Linked DNA regions of Homo sapiens: region 2 is linked to region 1. The links are contacts of gene promoters, found by promoter capture Hi-C in human tissues and cell types (Jung and others, 2019). All regions are on one chromosome and are shown on one strand. Each heading gives the region's core, a stretch centred on a gene start or on the middle of the fragment in contact. The rest is flanking DNA. Distances are from core to core; before and after follow the strand shown. Region 1 holds the start of UBE2F-SCLY (UBE2F-SCLY readthrough (NMD candidate)). Region 2 overlaps UBE2F (ubiquitin conjugating enzyme E2 F (putative)).

Region 1 (5,275 bases), core at 1,358-3,857:
AGGAAAAGGCTGGGCAATTCCTGGAACTGAGGGGTCCTCCCATTTTTAGATCACATAGGATAACTTGCTGTCTTTGCCATGACATTTGTAAACTGTCATGGCACTGGTGAGAGTGTCTTTTAGCAACAGATACATTATAACTAGTGCGTAATGAACAGTGAGGATGAACAGAGAACACTTTCGTCGCTATCTTGGTTTTGGCCGGCTTCTTAATGGCATCCTTTTAACGGCAAGCTCTTTGTGACCTGTACCTGTGCCAACCTTCTATGTCATCCTGTGACTTAGAATGCCTAACCTCCTGGGAATGTAGCCCAGTAGGTCTTAGCCTCAAGATGGAGTTGCTCTGGTTCAAACGCCTCTGACACCCCTAAAATTTATAAAAATCGAGCTGTAATCCAACCACCTTGGCACATGTTCTCAGGACCTCTTGAGGCTGTGACTCAGGCCTTCGTCACTCATATTTGGCTCTGAATAAAATCTCTTCAAATATTTTACAGTTTGACCTTTTTTGCCAACAGACTACTTAACTTCTGTGTCAGTTTCCTCATCTATAAAATGGGGATAATACCTGTTTCATGGGGTTATTGTTTGGATTAATTGAGTTAATAAACTAGGAAGTCCTAAATAAGTCTTAGTGAAAGAATTAGGCAGCCTCATGAAATGGAGCTAGAAATGACTTCATTCATCCACAGCGGTGGAATTTGGGCCTACGTGGGCCAATGTGTGGTGCAATCCATTCTGCAGACAGTGACGCTTATGAGTAAGACAAGTGCTCACGCCATTCCGGCTGCACCTTCACACACTGCAATCTTCAAGCCCTTATCTCCTCTCACCAGGACTCATGCCGCCAGCGCATGCAATCTCTATCCAGCAGATGTGTTTTAATCACCTGCATGTTCCAGGATGGGAAAGGGGGTGGCAGGAGGTGACGCTGGAGGAAGAAGGAAGAGGAGGGCTGAGGAGCTGAGCTTAGTCAGGGAAACAGGCCATGACAATAAGGAAGAGGGAAGTGCAGGGCTCCAAGGAAGACACAGAGGGCACCTGCACTGCCCCACCCCACCCCCAGGCTTTGAGGCCTATCAGAAGTTGGTGTCTTAGCTTAGGAAAACTTGAGAGTTAGCCGGGCAAAAAAGGGAGAGACATGGTCCCAAACACAAGAAATAACACAAGTTGTGTTCTTTCTTTTTTCTTTTTTTTCTGGAAACAGTCTTGCTGTGTCACCCAGACTGGAGTGCAGTGTCAGCTCACTGCAACCTCCGCCTCCTGGGTTCAAGCAATTCTCCTGCCTCAGCGTTCCAAATAGCTGGGATTACAAGGGCGCACCACCACGCCCGGCTTTTTTGTATTTTTAGTAGAGATGGGGTTTTGCCATGTTGGCCAGGCTGGTCTTGAACTCCTGACCTCAGGTGATCTGTCTGCCTCGGCCTCCCAAAGTGCTGGGATTACAGGCCTGAGCCACTGCGCCCGGCTGAGTTGTGTTCTTGACCAGTTTTCCTGACTCCATTCCCACCGACTCACTTAGAGCCAAAGCCTTTATTATTATTATGGGGACAGGGTCTGCCCTGTCACCCAAGCTGGAGTGCAGTGGTGCGATCACGGCTCACTGCAGCCTCAACCTCCTGGGCTCAGGTGATCCTCCCATCCCAGCCTCCTGAGTAGCTGGGACTACAGGCGCGCGCCACCACGCGGCTAATTTTTTTTTTCTTTTTTTGTAGCGATGGGGTCTTGCCACCATCAGGAGGCTGGTCTTAAACTCTTGGGCTCATGGGATCCTCCCACTTTGGCCTCCCAAAGTGCTAGGATTACAGGCGTGAGCCACCGGGCCCGCCAGCCTCCTTTAGGAAGAAAACCTGATAGTCACTCCACTGTTAGAAACCTCTCAGTGGGGTTTTTCGAAATGAAAGTCTAACTCCTTGTCTCTTTCTGACCGTTTCCATGCTGAACCTCATCTTTCTAATGGCCCACTCCTCCAGGGGCCTGCCTGACGCCCAGGACGGCCCCTCGTCAATCACACAGGACGCTAATGGGCGCGGGATGAATCTGGGCGCCCAAAAGAGGACAAGTTGAAATGGATTTTTAAGGTACTTTAAACACATTTAAGAGAGAAAAGAAGGAATAAAAGGGACATGACAAGAACAGTGGGGCCTGTGGGCGCAGCACACGGTTTGGGGTTGGTCGTGGCTTGCGTGTCTGACCGCCCGGTCTCCCTCACCGCCTGCACTGCAGGCTGCGGGGGCCTGTCCAGTCCTTTGCACTCCAGGTGCGGCGCTGGACAGCGGGAGCTCCAGCCACGGAGGCCGCTCCTTCAGGGAAGGATAGCCCGGGCTCCTCCGTGCCCCTAAACCCTGCAGACCACGAAGTGAACCCGTGTTGGAACCAGGTGCAAAACCCCCAGCCCTCCGGCGCTCGGGCTCCAGAGCCAACTCGGAATCCCCGCCCCTAACGCTACTCGCCAATCAGCGGCGGTTGCGAAATCCGTGCCCGCCCCCTGGCCGCGCCCTCTGCCAATGAGCGAGGTCCGAGAGGCCCGTCGCCCAGCCCAGTCCCGATCGGCGCACGCCGCTGTTCGCGTGTCTGGTTCCAAATAAAGTTTTTCGCGACTTTGAATTTTTTTTTTAAAGCGCCCGCTGCTGTCTCGGCTGCCGCGGGCGAGAGCGGCCGAGTCCCCGCCCCGCCACTTCCGGTCCCGCCGCCGGGAGCCGGTGCGGCTGTGAGGGGCCGCGTCTCGCAGCAGCCGCCCGGACCGGGCATGGTGTTGGGCGCCGGGCCCGCCTCGCCTGTCTCGGGGAGCCCAGGTGAGGAGCGACCGTGCGGCTCTGCGGCGGGGCGAGGTGCGGCCGCCGGTGCACGGGCTGGCCTGCGGGCCGGGCGGAGGGCGCGGGCGGTGGCGGGGCCGCCTCGGGCCCGCCGGGTTCCTCACGCCGGGGGCCTGGCGGGCGCGGGCACCCGGACGCGAGGCCGAGCGGCGTGAATGGGAAGGGGCCGCGGGCCGCGGGCCGCGAGCCGGGGGTCGGAGGCGGCGTCGGCGGCCGGGGCGCTGGCCTCGCCCGGCAGTGAGTGACCGCGGCGGCGGCGGCGGGGGACGGCCCGCGCCGAGCACCTGGTGTGAACCAGGCCCTGGGCCGAGCGTGGCACAGACCTGGCCGCGCTCACGCCCCACTCGCGGGATCGGCTGCCTGCCTTGTACGGAGGAAGCGGGGCGTCCAGCGCCTGGCCAAGGTCACCGGCCCGACGTGGCCGCAGAAACCGGGACTGGACTCCCGATCGGGGCAGGAGTCGCGCTAGGCCGTGAGGAGCGGGGGAGGTGAGGGGAGTGACAACTCGCGCCCGGTCCTCGTACCTGCAGCGGGAAGAGTAAGTATGGACGCTTACCTACAACTGGGGGCGGCCAGGCTAGTTTGGAAAATTTTTACCACAGCAAAGGAGACGAGGAAGGAAGGGCATCTTGGAACAATTAGTGCAGCAGAGTCTTGGTTCCAGACCTAGTTCTGCTGGTGTGTCATCTTGGGTGTGGCCTTCCCCTCCCTGGGCTCAGTTTCCTCATCTGTCACAGGAGAGAATTGGGTCCCCCCACTCTGCATTCCCGACCGCCTGGAAGTGGGGGCAGGATGGGTTGGAATAGCCAGAGAAAGCTTCTTGGAGGAGGAGATGTTGGGATGTAGGTAGGAATCTTCCCCTTAAGGAAGGGGTAGGATTCGTTTGTGAAGGGAAGGAGGGCATTCTAGACCTGGGTATCAGACTGAATAGAAGCTTCTGGAAATGAACAGGGTGTTGTGAAGGAACAAAGAGGAAACTGGCCTGCCTGGTGCAGAGGAATCCTGGCTGAGGAGTGAGATGAAGGCAAGGGGGAGCATAGAGGTGGGAGAGAGAGAGAGATTGAGAGACAGAATCACACCAAGCTTAGTGCTGTGGGGCTTGAGGACCCCCCACCTGGACATACCTGCCTTTCAGGTAGTAGGCAGTGCAGGAAGGGGCAGGTTTACTGCTGAACGTAAAAGGGGCTGGGCTCCAAAGATGGTCGGTCAACCAGCGTACTCCTGTGCCGAGCAGGAGGTTCCTGGGCACTGGCATTCTGTAGAAGAGTGGGATGTGGACTTTGTTGTGCCCTGATCGGGGCCCCTTTGGCTGGGGAAGTTGAGTGTCCCCTAGTGACCCGCAGTCCCATCCTTTATGCTTGGATTGAGACGTCTCCATTCGGAAGGAATTGTAAATAAGTAGCCCCCTCACCTTGAGCTGACTGGCCCCTGGTGTCCCTGCACAAGTGACATGGCCTGGTTTTGCCATTGCTTGCAGGGATGCTGAGTAAATATCACTTGATGGCACTAGTAAGTTGCACACCAGATGCTCTTCTCCGGGCTGTCTGAAAGCAGGTCCCACCCAGAGGAGGAACCTAACTGGGCCAATTACAACTTGTGGAATTTAGAAACTGAGAATGCTGTTCAGAACAGCTGATCTGTTACCGAAATGCTGCCTTAGAGCGTAATTTGCAGGAAAGAGGAAGTTTTGTTTTAAACCAGATCTTCAAGAGTTGAAGCATATTGAAGAAGGAAAAGAATTCTGAAGCAACTGCAGGTATTCAGCTAGCCTCTTGACAGTTTGAAGACTTACTTTTTGATAGAATCCTTTGGTTTAAATTTAATTTTACAGCTATGGCAACATTCCCAAATTAGGCCTTGGGTTTATTCTTAAAGTGGCGTGTGAAAATGATACACACGATAGAAAAATAGATGGTCACTATATTAGATTTCTTAGAATGTTAGAGAAGTACATTTTTTATTACTTTCTATGGAAAACAAAGCACCAGTGTTACATTCTTTTATATCTTGCAAGTCACAGACTTGAAGATAGTAAACCAGCAATCTGACTCTTCAGTGGAATTGAATGTTGGAGCGTCTTCTGCCCACAGAGAAGACTTCATCGTGGCGTGATTGGGGGTATAAAAGCGTTAAGCGTAGCCTGCGGGCTGTAGTGGTGCAGAAGAGTTTCTTGGTGGTTGGCCTTTGAGTGCATGAAGGATCTCTCTCCCCAGGCTTCCCTGAGCCTCCTTCAGGGAGCTGCATGTGGCCCTGGTGCTTGCTGTTCTGTGGGACTCTTCATTCTGACTTTCCTAGGTTACTGCCTGCTGAACTCATGTTCAAGCAGTTGTGCTTTTATTTTTCACTCTTTGCTTCATTTGCATTCCCAAGGTCAGCCAGAGACCTGGTAGTCCTTGTGTAGGGCATCTGGTGCGTCCAGCTGACCCCCAGGTGATGGATGGATGCACGTCTTGGTCCAT
Region 2 (5,275 bases), core at 1,724-4,223, 42 kb after region 1:
GAGAGAGGGAGCAAAAGAGATGCAGACTCTTTTAAACAACCAACTCTTGCATGAACTAACAGTAAAAACTCACTAATTACCATGGCACTAAGCCATTCATAAGGGATCTTCTCCATCACCCAGACACCTCCCACCAGACCCCACCTCAAACAAACAATGGGCATCACATTTCAACATGAGATTTGGAGGGGACACACGTCCAAACCATATCAATTGTCATCTTAATTATCACATCTTCTAATCCATGAACATGGTTTATATCTCCATTTCAGTTTTCTGTTGCTAGTACATAAAAATACAGCTGATTTTTGTATAGTGACCTTGTGTCCTACAACCTTGATAAACCTGCTTTTCATTGTAGTAGTTGTATTGTGGATTCTGTAGACTTTCCTATGTAAACTATCATGCCATCTATGCATAAAGACAATTTTATCTCTCCCTTTCAGTCTGTATCCTTCTGTTTCCTCTTCTTGCTTTACTTTGTTGTCTAAGACTTCCAGTACAGTCATATATAGAAGTGGTAGGAGGGACATCCTTGGCTTGTTCCTTTTTTCTTTTTTCTTTTTTTTTTTTTTTTTGAGAGTTTCCTTCTTGTTTCCCAGGCTGGAGTACAATGGCATGATCTCAGCTCACCACAACCTCCACCTCCCAGGTTCAAGCAATTCTCTTGCCTCAGCCTCCCAAGTAGCTGGGATTATAGGCATGCACCACCACACCCGGCTAATTTTTGTATTTTTAGTAGAGATGAGGTTTCACCATGTTGGTCAGGCTGGTCTCGAACTCCCAACCTCAGGTGATCCGCCTGCCTCTGCCTCCCAAAGTGCTGGGATTACAGGCGTGAGCCACTGCACCCAGCTGGCTTGTTTCTAATCTTAGGGGGTTGCTGTCAGTCTTTCATCATTACGTGTATGGTTTGCTGTAGGGTTTTTGTCTGTTTTTTCGAGACAGAGTCTTGCTCTATCGCCAAGGCTGGAGTGCAGTGGTGTGATCTCAGCTCACTGCATTCTCTGCCTCCCGGGTTCAGGCGATTCATGTGCCTCAGCTTCCTAATTAGCTGGGACTACAGGTGCCCACCACCATGCCCAGCTAATTTTTATATTTTTAGTAGATATGGCATTTCACCATATTGGCCAGGCTGGTCTCGAACTCCTGACCTCAGGTAATCTGCCCACCTTGGTCTCCCAAAGTGCTGGGATTACAGGCGTGAGCCACTGAGTCCGGCCTTGCTATAGGGTTTTTGCAGATGCCCTTTATCAGGTTGAGAAGTTCTTTTCTACTTCTTGTTTGCATATATACATATATATGTATATGTATGTATGTATTTTTTTTTTAATCATGAATGGATGCTTTTTTCCTCCCAAACCAAAAATGGCCAATAATGAATGGATGCTTAATTTGCCAAATGCTTTTTCTGCATCTACTGAGGTGATCATAATGGTTTTTCTGTTTTGGTCTGTTGATAAGGTAAATTACATTAATAGATTATTTTTCAAATGTTGAACCAAAGCTGCATTTGTGAGATAAACCATAATTCATCATGTATTATGTGTTAATGGTTTCATATATTGCTCAGTTTGATATATTAGTATTTTGTTAAGAATTTTTACAAATCCTTACCTGTCTGTGAGGGATATTTGTAGTTTTTTTTGTAATGAGTTGCCTAATTTTGGTGTCAAGGTAATGCATTCTGGTCTTTGAATGCATTTGGGGAGTGTCCTATTCTCTGGAAGAGTTTGTGTAAAATTAGTATTAATTAGTTAATTGATTTTTTTTTAGACAAGGTCTTACTCTCTTGCCCAGGCTGAAGCACAGTGGCACGATCACGCCTCACTGCAGCCTCAACATCCTGGGCTCAAGCAGTCCTCCCGCCTCAGGCTCCCAGGTAACTGGGACTACAGATGCCCATCGTCTGTAGTGGGCAGATGCACTACCATGTCCAGCTAATTATTTTTTGTAGAGACGGGGGTCTCACTATGTTGCCCAGGCTGGTCTCGAACCCTTGGGCTCAAGTGATCCTCCCAAAGTGCTGAGATTACAGGTGTGAGCCACTGTGCCTGGCCTATTAATTCTTTATTCAGTGGTAGAATTCACCTGTGAAGCCACCTGTCTCTGGAATTTTGTTTTGTTGTGGTAAGATTTTAAGTATAAACACAATTTCTAATAGATATAGGGCTGCCTAGGTTATTCTTGAGTGGGCTTCACTAATTTGTGTCCTTCAAGGGATTTGCTCATATCATCTGCATTTTTCAATTTATTGATATAATGTTCTTAGTATCATCTTATCCTATCCTTTTAAGTTCTGTAGAGTTTGTGTTGTATCTCCTCTTTAATTACTGATGTTGTAATTTTTGTCTTTTTCTCTTGATCAGGTTAATGAGAAGATTGTCAATTTTTTGACCTTTGCAAAGAACCTACTTTTAGGTTCATTGATTTTGCCCTGTTGTTTTTTGAATTTTGTTCATGTCTTTGTTATTTCCCTCCTCTTTATTTCCAGTTTAATTTGCTCTTCTTTTTCTGATGTTTAAGATGGAAGCTTAGACAAACAGTAGTATGTTTCCATTTCCCAGCTCAACCTTTATATTATAGTTCTCATTTGTTTTACTTTTACATATGTTGTAACCCAGAATATATTATCTGTGCTTTACAGTCTGTTTTTAAAATATATGTCTCCACATACTTAACATTTATGACCCTCATTCCCTTTTGTAGATCTAGATTTCTCCTCTCTGTTATTTTCCTTCTGCCTAAAGAACATCCTTGAAGATTTTTTTGTAGTGCAGATTTGCTTGTGATGAATTCTGTCAAGTGTTGCTGAAGTTTGAATTCTTAAGTTGACAGTTTCAGCATTTTAAGGATATCATTCTACTGCCTTCTGTATTTTTTCCTTACAAGTTAGTGGTGATTCTTTGTTCCACTTTATGCGATGTGCATTTTATTCTCTGGCTGCTTTTAAGATTTTCTCCTTATCACTGCTTTCAGCAGTTTGATTATAATGTGCTTTGAAGTGGTTTTTTCTTTTTATCACACTTGGGGTTTATTAAGCTTTTTGGATCTGTGAGTTATAGTTTTCATCCAATTTAGAAATAATTTGGCCAACATTTCTTTAAATATTTTTCTGTGATCGTTTTCTGGCACTCTAGTTTATATATCTATATCATATATGTCTTACATATAGATTACTTCTACGTGTAAATTATACCTCCATTGGGTCGCAGGTCTTCGTTCACTTTTCTTTCTGTGCCTCATTTTGGACAGTTTGTTTTTCTGCAATGTCTCATTTGCTGTTAAGCGCATCCAGTGAATTTTTCATTTCAGATACTGTATTTTCTAGCTGTTGACGTTCCATTTGGTGCTTTCCCCGTAACCGTCCATTTCTTTCCTCATTATGTTCATGTTTTCCTCTAAGTCTCAGCATCTCTATACAATAGCTGTCATTGTGCCTTTGTCTGCAGCCCTGCATCCCAGAGTCCTGGCCACTCCCTGGTGCCCATGTCTGTGCTGCCTCCTGCCTCCGCTCACACTCACTTCCTCTTCTCCACCATCTGTCTCTGTCTCTTCTCTTTCAACAGTCTGATCTGAGATGGATCAGAGCCTTTTAAGTTTAAAGTTTGCATAGGATGTCACTTCCAGGGTGCTGTAAATATTGACATTTAAAAATGAAAGTCTTATATTACTCTTTGAAATGTTTCCAGTGTAGAATATAAATACCACAGATATGCCCACCACCACAGATACTCCCATCATCACAGTTTTTTGTTTTTTTGTTTTTTTGTTTATTTTGATGTGAATAAGCTCTACTTCACTGGCTGGAAAACCTTTGCTAGTTTTTCTCCTGGCACTCATGTTTTCATTCCACTTGTTCCCTTGAATTGCACCCTAATGTAAACATTTTTATGCTTTTAAGTATTTTATTTGTCATTTTTTTATACTCTTCTGTAACTAGATATACAGGTAGATAGATAGATTGAGCTTTATTTATTTGGTTTTTTTTTCGATACAGAGTCTTGCTTTATTGCCCAGGCTGGAGTGCAGTGGCACAATCTTGGCTCACTGCAACCTCTGCCTCCCGGGTTCAAGTAGTTCTTCTGCCTCAGCCTCCCAAGTAGCTGGGAATACAAGTACCCGCCACTATGCCCGACTGATTTTTGTATTCTTAGTATAGACGGGTTTCACCATGTTGGCCAGGCTGGTCTCGAACTCTTGACCTTGTGATCCGCCTGCCTTGGCCTCCCAAAGTGCTGGGATTACAGGCGTGAGCCACCGTGCCCGGCCCAGAGCTCACTATTTGAAAAGTTCCTATAACTGTAAGACTCTTAGGTGTTAAACATTTGCTTTTGAACGATTGTTGCAGTTGTTATTTGTACAGGCTCCTGCTTCTGGTTTTTCCTCCTTTGTCTCTGGCTGCCTGTCCTCTGCCTCATCTTCCAGCCCCTCAAAGTGGGGGAACCTCAAGGCTTCACCCTGTCTTTGGACCTGTATAGTCAGTTCCCTGGTGTCCTGGCTATCTTGTGACATCAGAATGCTTTACCCTGAATGGCTCCCAAACTGCCCTCTCTATCCAACCTCTCCCAGTACTCAAGAATGATCTGTCAGCTGCCCACTCAACACCTCCACTGGGATGCCAACTTGAAATCTCAAGTTAATGTGTCTGATTTGAACTTCACACAGTTGTGCCATCTGCAGTCCTTTTATCTTCATGGTAGCAACTCTGCCATTTCCATTGCAAGGTCAAAGATCTTCTTTGACTCCTTCTCTCCTCCCTCCGTGCCTAATCTGTCAGCAAATTCTGGTGTTGCTGCCTTCAAAATCTGTCTACTTCACCTGCTCCCACCCTGATCCTAACCATTACCATCTCTCACCTGGATGATTACAACAGATAACCACAACTGGGCTCCTGCTCTGCGATCCATTTATATGCTCCTGTGCCTCCCCTACTCAGACCCCTTTCATGGCCGCATCTCACTCTGAATCAGAGCCAGCTACATGCAGGGGCCTGCAGGGCCCAACACCCTTTGCATCTGCTCCCTCTTTGGGCTCAGGTCCTCTTCCTCCACCTCACTCTCTGACCACATTGGCTTCTGCAGGGTTCACGGAACATACTAGGCCTCTTACCGTACCCACCCTGTTTCATCTGCCTGGAGTGTCCTTCACCCCAGTACCCTCCTCCTTCAATTCATCATTTTCTCTGACCTCCCTGCTTAAAACTGCAGCCTCTTCCCACTTTCTACTCCTTCTATTATATAATTTATGTATTTTCTCTCCCTTCCACTAGAAT

What was found. The method cuts DNA at HindIII sites, captures the fragments that hold promoters and counts their contacts. A contact is called where the count stands out against the background at its distance.
Region 2: a fragment that was not itself captured here is called in contact with the fragment with the promoter of UBE2F-SCLY in region 1 in 4 of the 25 tissues and cell types used here (H1 embryonic stem cells, IMR-90 fibroblasts, hippocampus and 1 more).

The regions. Positions count from the first base shown.
Region 1 is chr2:237,964,338-237,969,612 of GRCh38, forward strand. UBE2F-SCLY (UBE2F-SCLY readthrough (NMD candidate)) reads left to right here and starts at 2,608. Exons shown (of 19, transcript NR_037904.1): 1 at 2,608-2,795. It overlaps UBE2F (ubiquitin conjugating enzyme E2 F (putative)), which reads left to right and starts at 2,677. Exons shown (of 10, transcript NM_080678.3): 1 at 2,677-2,795. RefSeq lists cis regulatory regions at 1-214, 541-1,204 and a silencer at 2,721-2,900. The HindIII fragment of the contact is 7,997 bases long and covers 1-5,275 here.
Region 2 is chr2:238,006,199-238,011,473 of GRCh38, forward strand. All of the region lies in intron 4 of UBE2F (ubiquitin conjugating enzyme E2 F (putative)), which reads left to right. All of the region lies in intron 4 of UBE2F-SCLY (UBE2F-SCLY readthrough (NMD candidate)), which reads left to right. Among named protein-coding and RNA genes, the nearest start is that of UBE2F, 42 kb to the left of the region's middle. The HindIII fragment of the contact is 3,461 bases long and covers 1,244-4,704 here.